Linked DNA regions of Homo sapiens: region 1 is linked to region 2. The links are contacts of gene promoters, found by promoter capture Hi-C in blood cells and fetal thymus (Javierre and others, 2016). All regions are on one chromosome and are shown on one strand. Each heading gives the region's core, a stretch centred on a gene start or on the middle of the fragment in contact. The rest is flanking DNA. Distances are from core to core; before and after follow the strand shown.

Region 1 (3,098 bases), core at 358-2,857, 120 kb before region 2:
TTGTGATCTGCCTGCCTCGGCCTCCCAAAGTGCTCGGATTACAGGCATGAGCCACCGCGCCCAGCCAATCACTTTTCTTTATATCAACAATGAACAAGTGAAAACTGAAAAACATAATACCATTTATGTGCTCACTTTGGCAGCACGTATTCTAAAACACATAATACCATTTAAATTAGCACCCTGTAAAATGAAATACTTAGTTATAAATTTAACAAAATATGCACAAGATCTATGTAAGGCAAACTATAAAACCCTGATGAAAGAAATCAAAGAAAAACTAAATAAACGGATAGACAATTGATGTTCATGAATACAAGGACTCAATATTTTTAGGATGTCTGTTCTTCCCAACTTGATCTATAGATTCCAATGCAATCCCTGTCAAAATCCCAGCAAGTTTATTTCACAGATATCAACAGAGTATTCTAAATTTTATATGCAGAGCCAAAGCACACTTAATAGCCAATTCAATATTGAAAGAGAAGAACAAAGTTGGAGGACTGACACACCTGACTCGAAGACTTACTCTAAATCTACGATAATTAAGACAATGTGGTATTTGCAAAAGAATAAATCAATAGATCAATGGAACACAATAGAGTCCAGAAATTGACGCACATAAATATAGTCAACTGATCTTTGTCAAAGAACAAAGGCAATACGTTGAAGAAAAATAGAATGTTTGTTATAATAGACATCCACATTTAAAAAAAAAAAGAATCCAGACACAGACCTTACACCCTTCACAAAAATTAACTCAAAATGAATCGCAGACCTAAATATAAAACACAGACCTATAACGCTCCTAGAAGGTAATAGGACAAAATCTAGGTGAGCTTGGGTTTAGCAATAACTTTTTAGTTGTGACACCAAAGTCATGATCTATGAAAGAAAGAACTGATAAGTTGGACTTCATTAAAAGTAACAACTTCTGCTCAGCAAAGGACACTGTCAAGAGAATGAAAAGACAAGCCTTTGGGAGAAAATATTTGCAAAAGACATAATTGATAAAGGACTGTTATCCCCAATATACAAAGAATTCTTTAAAACTCAAAAATAAGATAACGAGAAACCCAATTTTTTAAATGGGCCAGCAAGCTTAACAGAACCTCACCAAAGAAGATAAACAAATAGCAAACAAACATATGAAAAGATATTCTACATCCTGTGTTACCATGGAAATACAAATTAAAATGATGATGAGATACTACTAACACCAATTAAAATGCCCAAAATTCAGAATACTGACACCACCAAACACTGGTGAGGATCTGTAGCAACAAGAACTCTCATTGCTGGTGGAAATGCAAAATGGTACAGCTACTTTGGAAGATACTTTGGAGGCTTCTTACAAAACTAAACATACCCTTACCATACAATCCAACCAGCACACTCCTTGGTATTTACCCAAAGGACTTGAAAACTTATGTCCACACAATTACCTACACATGGATACTTATAGAACCTAACTTTATTCCTAACTGGGAAATATTAGAAGAAACCAAGATGACCTCTAACAGTTAAATGCATAAATAAACCAGATACATCCAGACAAAAGGGTATCATTCAGCACTAAAATGAAATTATCAAGCCATGAAGCGACACGAAAGAAACTTAAATGCAAATTACTAAGTGAAAGAAATCAGTCTGAAAAGGCTACATACTGTATGATTCCAACTACATGACATTCCGTAAAGGCAAAACTATTAAGACAGGAAAAAGATCAATGGTTGCCAATGATTGGAGTGGAAGGAAGGGTGAAGGTGGGACACAGGATTTTTAGGGCAGTGAAACTACTCTGTATGACACTGAAATAGTGGATGCATGTCATTATACATGTGTTCAACCCCATAGAATGTACAGCACCAACGGTGAACCCTAATGTCAACTATGTCAATAAAGGTTCATCAGTTGCAACAAATAGGCCATTTTGGTAGGGGTTGCTGGTCGTGGGGAGGCCATGCATGTGTGGGTGCAGGTGAATATGGGAAATCACTGTGCCTTTTGCTAAATTTTGTTTAGAAGAGAACAGAACCCAACCTAGTATGTTCCAGTAGTAACAGTTATTCGCATGGGGGCTGAAAACATTAAAAACAGGTGGGTGGGGTCAGAAGCTTACCTGAGAGAAAATGGAAAGGAGATGAAAACAAAAAGGACCAAGGAACAAATGCAATGAATAGAAAACAAATATCAAGACGACGCATTGTAACCAAAGCATATTGGTAATCTTGATATTAGTTATAAATGTACTAAACAATTATAGACTACATACAAGAAACCCATTTTTGCTCATATTTATTTTATTTTGATTTTTTAATGCTGCACAAGACAATATCTATTTTTTCTTGTATTTATATGCTGCTATTTACTGAAAGTGAGAGGGACCTTATGTGGCCTTTTTCTTTTTCTGTAGGCCACCTTAGAGCTTTCTAAATTTGGAATACTTGATCAAGCTGAAAGAAAAAGGGAGTTTCACAAAATCAATGGGGGTGGGGAGGGGAAGGCTGCTTCATTAATTATGCCCTGTGGTGGTTGATTAACTGCTTGTACAATTGTTTCACTTTTAATAAATTACGCTTACAGTGCTCCTGCTGATGAAGGCACCTGAGCTGAATACAGTTACATCCGGGGTACAAGTGAAGGGACAGTGGCATTAGTGGCAGTTATATCCACTAGCAGGGCCAATTCTCAGAAAAGTCGCAGCCATGTGGGCCCTGTGGGGCTTGAGAGTAGCATCCTCAGGAATAGGTGATGAGCAAATTCTGGAAAGTGGTCCCAGAAGTCAGGCCTCGGCAGCAGAGCAGGTCTCAGGTGCTTGGCATGCAGTCGGCCTGCTGGCTGACACGATCTTGCCTGGGAAGCATGGGACACAGTTCATGGGCTGCTACTGGTGGGAGCCAGGGTAATGGGGTGCACATCCACCCTCCTGAAACAGGTCAGGGTCACTGTTCTCTTTGTCTAAGGTATTATCTGAGCTCGTGGTCTCACAACCAAGAAAATTAAAGAGCATGGACACAAAGGGTGAGGTTGGAGCAAAAATTTAATAAGCAAAAGAAGAAAGCTCTCCACAGAGGAGAGGGGTCCCGGATGGTGGC
Region 2 (3,398 bases), core at 1-2,500:
TTCCACAAACACCACATTCCACAAATCTTACCACGCCAGGTGTCAATTTCCTTATTTGAGGAAGGGAAGCTGGACCAGGTCCTCCCTCCCGTTATTTCCAATTCTGGAATCCTGCAATGAATAATCTCTAGATGAGTGACAGTGTGAATTACGTAATACAGGTACTTTTCTTTTCCAAAATTCTCCAATGATAAAGAACAGTTCTAGAATAACTATATGTAAAATGAAGCATGTTCCACTAAATTATTTCAAGCTCCCTTGAAGAGATTTCAGATCCATGTAAAGATATAGCAGAAACTTAAGCGTTGAGTCAAGTCACGTGGGTGGTCCCCAAGCAACTGTGCCCCCTCATCACCCTTCAGCACATGGTGAAATGACATCCTCATCATGCCTATGCCTAAATAAGTGAAGCGGGTGAGACAGCACATAGCATGTGAGTTTAACAAAACTTCAAAATAGCACCAAAAAAAAATTGCAGAAGCAACCTGATGCTCAGAATAAAACCTTCTTAACAGAACTGGCATAGAACAGACTATCAACTGCAAAGTCAGTGTCCTACCTGCCTCTTAGGAGGTCTCTATACAACTTGCTCACAAGTTTCTTCAGTGACGGTGCGTGTCTAGCTAAAGTTAATCTAGTCCACTGACAACCTTTGCACTGCCACTATTCTGAACAGAATCTCAAAATACCAAAACCAGGCAGCTGCCAGGGAGTTGGACCCCGGAAGCCAAGGATTTCCAGATCTTCGGGCGTTCTGAACCTCTTCACTAGACCACGAAGGCCTCTCGGCCTCTCATCACTGGCTTTCAGCACCTGGTCTAACTTTCCCCGCTGGACCCTCCCCAACGCAGAAGCTAAACCCTCGGGTCCTTCCAGAGCAACCGCCGGCTCCAAAGCCCTCAACTCTGCAGCAAATTCCCCTCCGGTGCCAGCCCGGCTGGCCCAAGGCCCGGGTCCAATCCTCAGAACTGCACGGCTCGGCCCCGCCCCTCCCCCACGCCGTGCCTAACCCTAACCCCCAGCCTCACGCGTCGCACCGCTCCCCACGCCCCGCTCCCGCTCCCCACGCCCACACGGGCAGCGACCTCGCGGACCCAGCCGCCCGCTCCCGCTCCCTCCACTCCCAGGAGACACTTCAACCCTTTCGCCGCCCCTTGCCCGCCCTCACCTGAACCGCGGGCGCCGGCCCCCTAACCCGCAGCCCTTCTCCGGCCGCGGGCTCCCAGACGCACTCGCTCCCGCAAGGAGTCTGGGTGCGCGCACGCTCTGGGCCTGCGCGGCGGAAGGGGCGGGGCAGCGCGGGGCGGGGCCTGGAGGGTGCCGGGGCGGGGCCACAGCGGGCGGGTCCTGGAGCGGCTCGGGAGAGCGGAGGGTCGGCGAGGGTGCCTGCGCGCGGCTGGGCCTGGGGATGCAGGTTCCAGCCTGCTTGCGCGTCTCACCTGATTTAGGAGCTTCCAGAGGCCCCAGACAGTGCCTGTCTTTGCCTGACCGCGAATCAAAGTTCCATAGCCCGTGAGCGAAGGCACGTCTATTAGCTGACGTTTGCAGAGAGCATACCCTGCCCCAGGCCCTATGCTAAGCACTTTCTACCCACCGTCTTTGTGCTGCAGCCCTGTGAGCTATGCACTATTAGTGCCCATTTTACAGTTGAGGACATGAGTAGAACGCGACCTCAGCCTGTGCTTCCGAGTTCCTTCATTCCTCCTTCCCGTCCCCGGGCCCTCGATGTCCAGAAAGAATGTAAACACATCGAAGGATCACATTTTAAAGTTAAACTCCATCATTTTCCTCTTCTTAGATATGAAGGCCCCTTTCCTGTTATTCACTGGGTTTTGCTTAGTACGGCTTCACACTACTTATTCCAGGTACTCCCAGCAGTGGCGCAGAGACCATCCTCAGTTCTGTGTGTGGATGGGACCAGAGAAGCCGGCCGGCCGAGCTAATGTTCTTCCCTTCCTGGAAGAGAGTAGTTTCCAAACAACCCGATCTCTGTTCCTCTACTGGCTCCACATATGCTCTAAGTTCCTGTTACACTGTTGAGAGGCTCTTGAATTAGAAACTATCGAGTATAAATGGCAGTGGAATATCACTCTATAGTTGTCACCGATATTTCCCTTACCTTGAGATTGTGACAAGACCAGAAAGAGAAAAAGAGTAAAAACAATGTAAACTATAATTTTTGATAGACTTTGTTTTTTTAAAGTGGTTTAAAGTTAACAAAATTGAGCAGAAAGATATTTTCCAAATACTCCCCGCCCCACCTCCCCACATGCATCGCCTTCCCTTTATCAACATCCTCTACCAGAGTGGTACATTTCTTAGAACTGATGAACCCGGCCCGGCCTGGTGGCTCACGCCTGTAATCCCAACACTTTGGGAGGCCGAGGCGGGCGGATCCCGAGATCAGGAGATCGAGACCATCCTGGCCAACATGGTGAAACCGCGTCTCTACTAAAAATACAAAAATTCGCCGGTCGTGGTGGCGGGCACCTGTAGTCCCAGCTACTCGGGAGCTGAGGCAGGAGAATTGCTTGAACCGGGGAGGCGGAGGTTGCAGTGAGCCGAGATTGAGCCATTGCACTCCAGCCTGTCGACAGAGCGAGACAGAGCGAGACTCCATCTCAAACAAAAGAACTGATGAACCTACATTGATACATCATTACCCACCATCACAGTATAATGCAGAGTAATTTCACTGTCTTAAAAATCATCTGTGCTCTGCATATTCATCTCTCCCTCTCCTCTACCCCTGGCAACCGCTGATCTTTTTGTCTCCATAGTTTTGCCTTTTTCCAGAGTGTCATCTAGTTGGAATTACATAGTATGTAGCCGTTTCAGATTGGCTTCCTTCCCGTAGTAACAGGCATTGAAGTTTCCTCCATGTCTTTTCATGGCTTGATAGCTCCTATTTCTTTTTAGTGCTGAATAATATTCCATTGTGTCGATATATCACAGTTTTATCTATTCGCTTACTGAAAGATATCTTCATTGTTTCCAGGTTTTGGCAATTATGAATCAAGCAATTATGAATCAAACAACCCAGAAATCCAACCACCCACTCCAGGCATCTTTGCATGAACGTATCAAAAACACCTCAGTCCCAATGCCCAGGATCTTCCCCTTTGAGAGGCTGAGATGGGTGGATCACTTGAGCCCAGGAATTGGAGACCAGCCTGGGCAATATGGTGAAACCCCATCTCTACTAAAATAAATACAAAAAATTAGCCAGGTGTGGTGGCACGTGCCTGTAGTCCCAGCTACTCAGGAGACTGAGGTGGGAGAATCGCTTGAGCCAGGGAGATCGAAGCTGCCGTGAGCTGTGATTGCACCACTGCACTCCAGCCTGGGCAACAGAGTGAAACCCTGTCTCAAAAAAGTAAAAAGAAAAATAAAACAAC

The links. The method cuts DNA at HindIII sites, captures the fragments that hold promoters and counts their contacts. A CHiCAGO score of 5 or more calls a contact.
Region 1: a contact is called between a fragment that was not itself captured here and the fragment with the promoter of NFRKB in region 2, in 3 of 17 cell types (non-activated CD4 T cells, naive CD4 T cells and total CD4 T cells). The highest score is 7.3, in non-activated CD4 T cells.

What each region holds. Positions count from the first base shown.
Region 1 is chr11:129,776,238-129,779,335 of GRCh38, forward strand. All of the region lies in intron 1 of LOC124902793 (a long non-coding RNA gene), which reads right to left. Among named protein-coding and RNA genes, the nearest start is that of TMEM45B, 38 kb to the right of the region's middle. The HindIII fragment of the contact is 1,016 bases long and covers 1,100-2,115 here.
Region 2 is chr11:129,894,328-129,897,725 of GRCh38, forward strand. It overlaps NFRKB (nuclear factor related to kappaB binding protein), which reads right to left and starts at 1,251. Exons shown (of 27, transcript NM_001143835.2): 1 at 1,169-1,251; 2 at 32-111. RefSeq lists a silencer at 968-1,407. The HindIII fragment of the contact is 7,376 bases long and covers 1-3,398 here.